2 separate regions of the Homo sapiens genome follow, and region 1 is linked to region 2. The links are contacts of gene promoters, found by promoter capture Hi-C in blood cells and fetal thymus (Javierre and others, 2016). All regions are on one chromosome and are shown on one strand. The core of a region is centred on a gene start or on the middle of the fragment in contact, and the rest is flanking DNA. Distances in the headings are between cores, read along the strand shown.

Evidence for each region. The method cuts DNA at HindIII sites, captures the fragments that hold promoters and counts their contacts. A CHiCAGO score of 5 or more calls a contact.
Region 1: the fragment with the promoter of RELL1 here is called in contact with the fragment with the promoter of TMEM33 in region 2 in 1 of 17 cell types (activated CD4 T cells); the score reaches 5.2 in activated CD4 T cells.

The regions. Positions count from the first base shown.
Region 1 is chr4:37,684,559-37,689,572 of GRCh38, forward strand. RELL1 (RELT like 1) reads right to left here and starts at 1,818. Exons shown (of 7, transcript NM_001085400.2): 1 at 1,642-1,818. The coding sequence starts at 1,729. RefSeq lists silencers at 1,357-2,026, 2,207-2,516. The HindIII fragment of the contact is 3,799 bases long and covers 716-4,514 here.
Region 2 is chr4:41,932,824-41,937,467 of GRCh38, forward strand. TMEM33 (transmembrane protein 33) reads left to right here and starts at 2,606. Exons shown (of 7, transcript NM_018126.3): 1 at 2,606-2,706. The coding sequence starts at 2,662. LOC105374426 (a long non-coding RNA gene) reads right to left here and starts at 1,852. Exons shown (of 3, transcript NR_188374.1): 1 at 1,783-1,852. RefSeq lists enhancers at 2,446-2,625, 2,866-2,915, 2,926-2,995. The HindIII fragment of the contact is 15,520 bases long and covers 1-4,644 here.

The sequences.
Region 1 (5,014 bases), core at 568-3,067, 4.2 Mb before region 2:
GCAACTGACTCTAACCCTCTAATGAATGTCTCCAACCTCACATCCAAGTGGAACCTGATTATGCACCTATGTGTCCCAGCAATCAAACGCAGGATGAAAATCAAAATGAACCAGCAGGGCATGGTGGCTCATGCCTGTAATACCAGCACTTTGGGAGGCCGAGGCAGGAGGATCACTTGAGGTCGGGAGTTCGAGACCAGCCTGGCCAATATGGCAAAACCCCATCTCTACTAAAAATACAAAAATTAGCCGGGCATGGTGGCACATGCCTGTAATCCCAGCTGCTCAGAAGGCTGAGGCAGGAGAATCACTTGAACCAGAGAGCTGGAGGTTGCAGTGAGCCGAGGTTGTGCCACTGCACTCCAGTCTGGGTGACAAAATGAGCCCCTGTATCAAAATAAGGAAAAGAAAAAAAAAATTGTCCCATCCAGTAAAACATGTCACTAGCTGCCATTTCCCCAGGTGGATGGCTAACGGAAATACGGGCCTGCTAAAAAGACTCAGGAGACAATATTATCCATCTCCTTCCCTTCCAACCTGCTCTGGTTTCTATGAAAAAGTGAAGGCCAAACTGCTAAGTCAGTGTAAAAGTTGTAAGCGACTGAAATGTTCTCAGGAGGAAGAGTTTATGGATGTTTATGGAGGAGACAGTCACTGTTGAAAGGCTTCCAGTTGCTTATTATTTGGGCCTGAGGAGGAACCACCGCTGAAATCAAGCTTGGAAGAGCTTGCTGACGTCAGATTCCCAGCTGTAGTAACCCCAAATGGCCAAGTAAGTATGTTTTTTTTTTAACTGCAGCTGTTAGGTGGCAATTAAGAGGGGAAGCGGTGGTAAGGAATCCCTAGTGTCTGTAATTATAAAAGCAAGGATGTGACATAGGACTTCCATAAAACTTACACCTCCTCTTAAGATTGATTTCAATTAAAAACTGCTTCATCGTTGGTGACACTTTAGCATCTCTGTTGGTGGCTTCCTGCCCTGACCACACAAGGTTCCTTTCGTGACGACAGGAATCAACAAAAAGAAGAAAAAAATGTAAGTTTACCAACGCGCCTTCCCTTTTTCCGAGCCTGATTTATACAGGATATATGGGAAGAAATGTGGACTCCTTGACCTGTTACAAGAATCCATCAACCACCCAAATAAATGGAAACGTGGAAAGAGATTCAAAGTCCTCCAGGTTTTAGGATATTTTAAGGTATTTAAAAGGGAGAAGGAGGCGCCGACAGCGCACCCGGTGCTCTGTGTCACGATCTTCCGCTCGCGGCGCCTTTGAGGACAAGGGCGGCGGGAAACGGGTCCGCGGGGTTCCGAGGCGAGCGGCCGTGGAGGAAGCGCCCCCGAAGAAGGCCTGGTCCCTACGCCCCGCACTGCCCAGCGCTGGGGAACACAGATCCTCGGAGGAGGCCCCAGGGAGGGAAGGCGGGAGCGGGGCCCGCGGGAGGGGAGGGACGGGAGCCGTTGCCACGCACCGCGCCCTGCCCGGACCGCCGCGGGACAGCCAGTTGTTCAGTGCCGGGATCCCGCGGCTGTGCCAGAAAGCAGGACGCCGCGGGGCTGCCGTCCCGACCCCTCGCTTCCTTCCGCGCTCCCGGGACCGGGCTCAGCACCCGGCGCCCCGGCTACGACCGGACACTCACCCGGAGCCACCAGCGGCGAACTCACGGCGCCTCCCACGAAGACAGCAGCGGCTAGGACGGCGGACCCCGGGAGTGCCCGCGGAGCCATCGCCGCGTCGCTTCGCCCTCCTCCCCCAGGGCGCCGCGTCCCGCGCTCGGGAAGGCAGAGCCGCTCCGGAGCCGGCGGGCTGATCGAGTGGCTGGGCTGGGCCCCAGGGAGCGGCGAACCCCGCCCCGCCATTGCCCCGCCCCACGCCACACCCACCTCGGCTCGGTCCCGCCTCTCCCCGCGCGCCCCGGGCTCCACCTAAGCCGGCACGAGGTCCACTCATGGCTCCGCCCCCGACTCCCCGCCCACCTCAGCCTGATCCCGCCTCTCCCTGCCATTCCCGCTTCCTTTCCAAACCCCGCAGCAGCCTCAGCGGCGTAGCTAGGCCATGGACACGCCCTCTTTCTCCACCCACCTCAGCTTGGCCCCGCCTCTCCCTACCGAGCCCCGGACTCCACCTAAGAAGGCACGTGGCCCATCCATGGCCCCGCCCTTTTCCCCACCCACAGCTCAGCCCGACCCCTCCTCTCCCGCTTCCTTTCCAAACCCAGCAGCAGCCTTGGCGGCGCAGTTAGGCTATAGCCCCGCCCTTGCGCCCTGCCCACCGTGGCCCGGCCGTGCCTCTACTTGCCAGGCCCGCTTCCTTTCCAAGCCGGGCCGGGATTACGCGGGAGCCCGGGGCGGGGGGAGGGTCGCCCGGGTGCAACCTCCCTCGGTCGCTGGGACTAGGCGGGCGTGGGAAGAGAAAGAGGGAGCGCGCCCCGAGAAGCACTGGACAGTCAGAAGCGGCCAGCACTGGAGTGAGCACAGGCTTTTTTCGCTGTTGGCATGTCTATCCACTAGCATTCCCCTCGGTTGCAGATCTAGGGAGTGATGCTGTGCTGGATGTCACGTTCTGTTGTTTGGAAATTAGCAGAAAAGATAACTTAAATTTCTTCCTCTGTTTGTTTGCATTTAAGCTGCTCCTATTGGGGAAAATACCTCTATGCATTTTCAGGAACAACTTGCCTTTTTTTTTTAATCGTGTGCTTGTATTGCACCTTGCGCATACTCCCGCAAAGTAGGTCTTTCAATGCCCAGACGCTTATTATCTCCTCACATCCTCACATCAGCTCTGCGAGGTGACTATTAGAGGCCAGGGAGTAAACCCACGATGTCTGGGCCACCATGATAAATTGTAATTATCTCATTGTCATTGTGTTTGCTCGCTGCTGTGCCCTCAGCGCCTGGATGGAGGACAGACAGCACACGCTAAGAGGTCAGAAGTGTTTTCTGAAGTTGAATCATCTTCACAAGCATTAATAGGACTCAGAGGCTCTCTCTGAATAGTTCCTTTTTACTGCCCTGTAGAGACTGTTGTTACTGGGCCATCAAGCATTTGCTTGAAGGAAATTAGGGCAGGACTTGAGCAAATACTCAACACCAGCAAGAAGAGGGGGTGCATGGAGGCTGTGGGTTTTCACAGGATGGGTCTCATCCTTGAGGTGACTGATAACCTCTAGTTTTCAGAGGACTATTTATTCTCTCACCGAGTCCTCCACGCAGTCTGCTGGACTATTATTACAAACATTGCATTGATGTGGGAATTGCCAGTGACAGAAGCTCAGGCCACTACAGTACAGATGGCTGAGGCTGAAGGATGGAGCCCCTGCCCTTTGAAGCCCAAGGAGGGCACTGCGCGTCCTGCGCTCAGTTGGCAGCGCATCCTACAGTCTGGCAGTCTTAGCAGGCAGCCTTTGCTAGTTTTATATCAACATAAACATTGAGAATGTGTGCGGAGGAAAGCGATCCATGTGGATTTCTAACTAAAACAGGAGAGAATCCCGGACCTAGAAATTAAACTATAAATTAGAAGTTGTAGCCAGAACCAGCTATAAAATTTGCAGGGCACAATGCAAAATGAAAAGGCAGGGCCTTCTGTTCAAAAATCGTTAAGAATTTCAAGATGGCAACAACACAACATTAAATCGATTGTGGAGCCCTCCTAAACACACAGTTGCACAGGTCACACACTTATAAAGCCAGCTCTGGTTTTGTAAGTTAGAATGTAACAAAATGCTTGAATCAAGAAATCTAATCAAAATGTAAAATGTCATTTCAAAATTGAATCATGTTTCACTCTTTTCCCACAGATTGGACTTAGTATTAAAAAGATGGGATCGTTTTTGGCTGGGCGCAGTAGCTCAAGCCTGTAATCCCAGCACTTTGGGAGGCCGAAGCAGGCAGATCACGAGGTCAGGAGATCGTAGACCATCCTGGCTAACACGGTGAAACCCCATCTGTACTAAAAATACAAAAAAGTAGCCAGGCGTGGTGGCGGGCGCCTGTAGTCCCAGCTACTCGGGAGGCTGAGGCAGGAGAATGGCGTGAACCCGGGAGGCGGAACTTGCAGTGAGCCGAGATTGTGCCACTGCACTGCAGCCTGGGCAACAGAGCGAGACTCCGTCTCAAAAGAAAAAAAGAAAAAAAAAAAAGAAAGACGGGATCATTTTTAACAACACATTTGAATTGTATATCTGTTATGGCTCTTCAAATATAAAAATCTAGTACTTAAGCCTTACCCATTATCTACCAGGCCCTTTGTTTTACAGATGAGAGATGGTTAAGTGATCTGCCTGACATATCTACTATGAGCCAGGGTTGAAACCCAGGGCTCTGAAATTTCTCTTCCTAAACTTTCCATAACACCTGCTTGACACACTCTCTATAAATGTCTTACTTTCACGTACCCCGTATACATGCATTTGTATGTCTTGTTAAAGGAATGAAGGAAGGGTAGGAGGAAGAGAGGGGGAGGGACGGAGGAAAGTGAAGAAGGGAAGGAGAGAGGAAAGAAAGAAAATCAAGCTTAAATTATTTTCCATATCCTTAACCCTACAGATTTATTCATACAATTTAAATAGCTTCTACATATGTATATCTAAAAATCCACTGTTTTATTTTAAAAGTAAGAACCCCAATGTAATGGAACTTCTATTCTCTATTATGAAGGGAATGTCATATTTCTTCTGAGGACATAAAATGGAAATCTTAAAACTAAGTTGTATTTCCATTTTTTCAGAAACAAAAGTAGAGTTTTAATAATTCTTAAGAATAACTGTCATTAATTAAAAACAATAATCCTCATTCTGCCCTTAGATTTAGCCCAATCCTATGGTGGGAACTCTTTTTGTATTCTTTCATCAATTCCTCACAATGATTTTATATTTAGGGAATCATTGTTAACACTCCTCACTTCAAAGCTGAGGGATTAGGGCATTTACCTGAGTCACATGGCCTCTCCCTGGCACCACCAGGATGCAAATCCAGGATCAGCTCCCTTGGGCCCACACTTGCAACCTCCTC
Region 2 (4,644 bases), core at 1,356-3,855:
CAAGGTGGCCCTCTCATGGGCTGGGAAGCACAGCCTCCAGCAAGGACCAGAGACAGGCACTTTAAAGGAAGAGGAGCTGGGGTAGGAGCTTTATGCTGAATAGGTTGGCTAAACATACATATTCAACAGGTTACAGGAAGAGCTATGAATATTCATAAAAGTAGTCCTGATACATGCGTATGGAACAACATGCATGTTACATACAACCTGTGTTCACCTTGGGGTGGAGACTTAATATTTAATGTATTACAGTTAGGCTCTGTACCTCAAAAGGTGAAGCAGAGACGAAGGCACACAAGTGCATGGCCTCTGTAAAGTGGCCAGAACCAGCCTATGGTCAGTGGTCTTATCTGGAGAACGTTACTGAAATCAGTCTCTTGTGCAATCAAAGCTGTAGCTATGGTTGGTATAGCAGGGGTTCAGTTAGTGTCTGTGAGCTGGATTAGTTGTAATTGTTTTAATATTGCTTCTCTCTAGGCCAGTGGTTGTTTAGCTGCCAGAGGGAAAAAAAAAACCTCTTGTGGTAGAACATAGTTTATTTTTTAAGTGTAGGGGGTGCATGACTTAACCCTTGCCTGGCATGGCCTTAGGTCCTGTTTATAATTTGGTATCCTATTCCCACAAAGAGTTTGTTCTGTCAATGTTATGATCTTTATTGTAACATTAACATGTTAAACATAGGCTGACTTCCTAGAACTAATTTGAAAGGAAAACCCTAACTTTCCACGCCTAAGTAGTTGCTAGTCAGTTGTGTCTAAACTACAAAAGGGAGGGGGTATAATGAGGCATGTCTGATCTCCTGTCCCATCATGGCTGGGGTCCCCTTGGCCAAGAAAGGGATCTATCCAGTCAGTCGACAGACCCCTTACTTAGGATTTTATTTTTAGTTTATATATATATAAATGGCTTCACAACGAATTTCCTGACTTTTAATTTGCCCCTCTGTTCATCCTCCACCCTGTTGCCAGAGAGAACTTTCTAAATCTCAGGATGTCACACTTCTGATTAAAATTGTTCCATGGTTCTCTGGATTTCAGGGTCAAGTTCAGATCCTTTCCTCAGTACACCCCTGCCTGCCTCTCTAGCGCAAATCTTTCACAATCCCCTGACTGGTACCATCATTCTGGTCACACTCAACTAGTCCTCTCGCTGTCCTGTTACTTCTTGCACTTTCTGTTACTCTGTATGGAGTTCCCTTCCCGTTTTAAGGCAGAAGAATATGGTATGGCGGTAGGGAACCTAATGCCCTTTCTCGCTGACTTCCTAGAACTAAATTGAAGGAAAATCCTTACTGTCCACGCTTAAGTGAATAAAGGGCCAGATACTACTCCCTTTGCAAGCCCCAACCTGTTCTGCGCAGATTTGGGAAATTGAAAGTACCTCTGATTGGTTGCTTTTTGTAACCAATCAGACGTTTGCATAGAAGTGTAACTTTGTAACTTCTTCAGCCTCTGATTGGTTGCTTTGCGCAACCATTCAGACTGATTGCGGGCCACCACTTCATTTACATGAAGTGAACTCCAAGTGGCCAATGGGAAACCTCTAGGGGGTATTTGGACCCGAGAAGACTCTGTATCCAGGGCCCTTGAGCTGCTGTCTCACTCTCCCACACTCTGGAGTGTACTTTCATTTTCAACAAATCTCTGCTTTTGTTGCTTTATTCTTTCCTTGCTTTGTGCGTTTTGTCCAATTCTATGTTCAAAACGCCAAGAACTTGGACACCCTACACCAGTAACACTTTCAGCCAACTTTTTGTCGTTCAAGATCAAGGCCCGGACTTACCTTTTCCAGGAAACCTCCCCAGATCCCTTCTGATTTAGGTACCGTCCTCTGTGCTCCCTGTGATTAAATCAGCCTCTACACATATTACACAATCACTATGCTCTGATTTCCGTTTACTTGTTTCTCTTTTGCAATCTGTGTCATATTCCTCTTTTTATCCGCCGTGCCAAGTATGGAGCCTGTCACATAGCAGGCCTCATAAATACTTATTGAAAGAATTAATAATAGACGTAGAACCAACGGGCTTAGTAAGCCCCTGGAGAAAGGAATCAAAGATGTTTCTGAGGCCTCTATATCAGGAAGTGCGGAAATTTCATGGTTTGAGAATGGGCAGGAAAGATCATTTGTGAGCTGTATTTAATGCAAAAGTTGCTCCCCCATCCTGATTTCTTAGCTCACTGGGCCAATCGGCGGAAGGACAGGTGGGGCTCAAATTAGGAGAAAAAAACCACACTTCCCGTCATGCCTCTGGGCACCGCTCCCGTTTCCCCCTCTTTGTCACCGCCTCTTCCCCACGGAAATGAAAGGAGCACTTCCGGGTTCGGCAATAACCTGGAGCCGGCGGCGTAGGTTGGCTCTTTAGGGCTTCACCCCGAAGCTCCACCTTCGCTCCCGTCTTTCTGGAAACACCGCTTTGATCTCGGCGGTGCGGGACAGGTACCTCCCGGCTGCTGCGGGTGCCCTGGATCCAGTCGGCTGCACCAGGCGAGCGAGACCCTTCCCTGGTGGAGGCTCAGAGTTCCGGCAGGGTGCATCCGGCCTGTGTGTGGCGCGAGGCAGGGAAGCCGGTACCCGGGTCCTGGCCCCAGCGCTGACGTTTTCTCTCCCCTTTCTTCTCTCTTCGCGGTTGCGGCGTCGCAGACGCTAGTGTGAGCCCCCATGGCAGATACGACCCCGAACGGCCCCCAAGGGGCGGGCGCTGTGGTAAGTGCGAGGGCAGGGTAGTCTGGCTTGATTTGCAAGAGTTAGGAAGAAGCAGGAAGCGTTGCGAGTCCCGAGGCGTTCCAGAAGCTCAGTGCATTCAGGAATGGGATTAATGAGTTGGGGTGGGGAAGTTGGAGCGGGGAGAGGGGAGGTCCTGAGCGAAGATATGGAGGGAACTACAAGTTTGTTTCTGAAGCGACAATAGGCTGACCTGGAGCTGGTGGCCCCCACCTGTATGCCATGGAAATTGGGCCTTCTTTCCTCTTCTCCCACCTCGGTCTTTTGTTTACCGTAGGCCCCAAGGTTAAAGATGCCGCATGAGATTGTGCCATGACACACATGATCCATGACACACACCACGTGGAGCACACGAGTGCCGGCAAAGAACGTTTCTGCCTAGTTTATACAATCGTATATAGAAATTATGCAAAGGGAGGAGAGCGGTGGTCTTTTTCTTCTTCACTTTGTTCTTTATGAAGAGAAATATCATTATGCTTTTGTAATTTTTTTAAGATGCTGATCTGGAGCTAACAAGTTATTTGTGCCCGGAGCATTGCTGTCCTCTACTTTTTAATCCATAAGTAGTTAAGTATTATTCTGTGTGACCACAATGCAGTTACCACATTTGGGAAATATTACCTAATATAAAATCCATGTGCAAATTTCCATAATTGTCCTTTAAAGCTGCTTTCTCTTCATCTGGGATTCTGTCAAAAAGCATGCATCGATGGGCTGGCGCAGTGGCTCACTCCTGTAAGCCCAGAACTTTGGGAGTCCAAGGCGGGAGGATCGCTTGAGTTCAGGAGTTAGAGACCAGCCTTGGAAACATAGCGAGACCTCATCTCTACTAGAAATCAAAGAAATTAGGCGGGGCGTGGTGGCTCACGCCTGTAATCTCAGCACTTTGGGAGGCCAAGGCGGGTGGATCGCTTGCGCCCGAGAAGTTGAAGCTGCCGTGAGCCAAGATCGCGCCACTGCACTCCAGCCTGGGTGATAGAGCAAAACCTTCTCTCAAAACAAACAAACAAACAAACAAACATAAATTAGCCGGTCGTGGAGGTGCGCTCCTATAGTCCCAGCATAGTCCCAGCTACTCAGGAGGCTGAGGTGGGTTGTGCTTTTGCGCTCCAGCCTGGGGTGACAGAGCGAGACCCTATCTCAGAAAGCATGCATTCAATTTACTGGCCATATCTTGTTTACTGCCTTTTAATCTAGAACAGTTCTGCCCTCTCCTCCCCTTTTTTGTCTTTTAAGATACTGATAGTTTTCAAGAGTCCAGACATGTTTTGCAGCATATATAGGTACATCTAATATGTATATCTATATTATATATCAGGAAGCATTTTACATTGATTTATCCCATCATTGCAGAATTTGTTTGATTATTTGATTAAGGTGGTGTCCACCAGTTTCTCCATTGTAAAGATACCTTTTTTCCTTTCTAATTAAAAAGTGTTCTTTGGCATGATACTGTGACACTGTGTGAATATTGCTCCTCAACAATTTTTCACCCAAAGATCTAGTGATTTTTTTTTTTTTTTGCCTGATGGTTGGACAGTTTACTCTTAAAAAATGTATACCAATAGACTTTCTTAAACTTTTAAAATTGTATAATATACATAAGTGTGTACAAAATGAAACGCATAGCTCAATGATTTATTGCAGAATAAACAACCTGAACAAATAGATTTTAAGGAGAATGTTCTAAAACTAACTTTCAAGCTGTGGTGCCCAGTCATAATATTTGTTGAGAAACTGAGCACAGTAAGCTGGATTCATCCTTCACTTGATTACTGCTAATCATTTCAGTTTATTGGAGTCACAGTACGGTAAGTCTGGATTTAATGATAAATCAAAGTTGTATTTCATATTTCTGAAATTACCTACATGTGGGTTAAAAAGACATAAAATAAAACAGCCTGGAATTTTACAATGTAC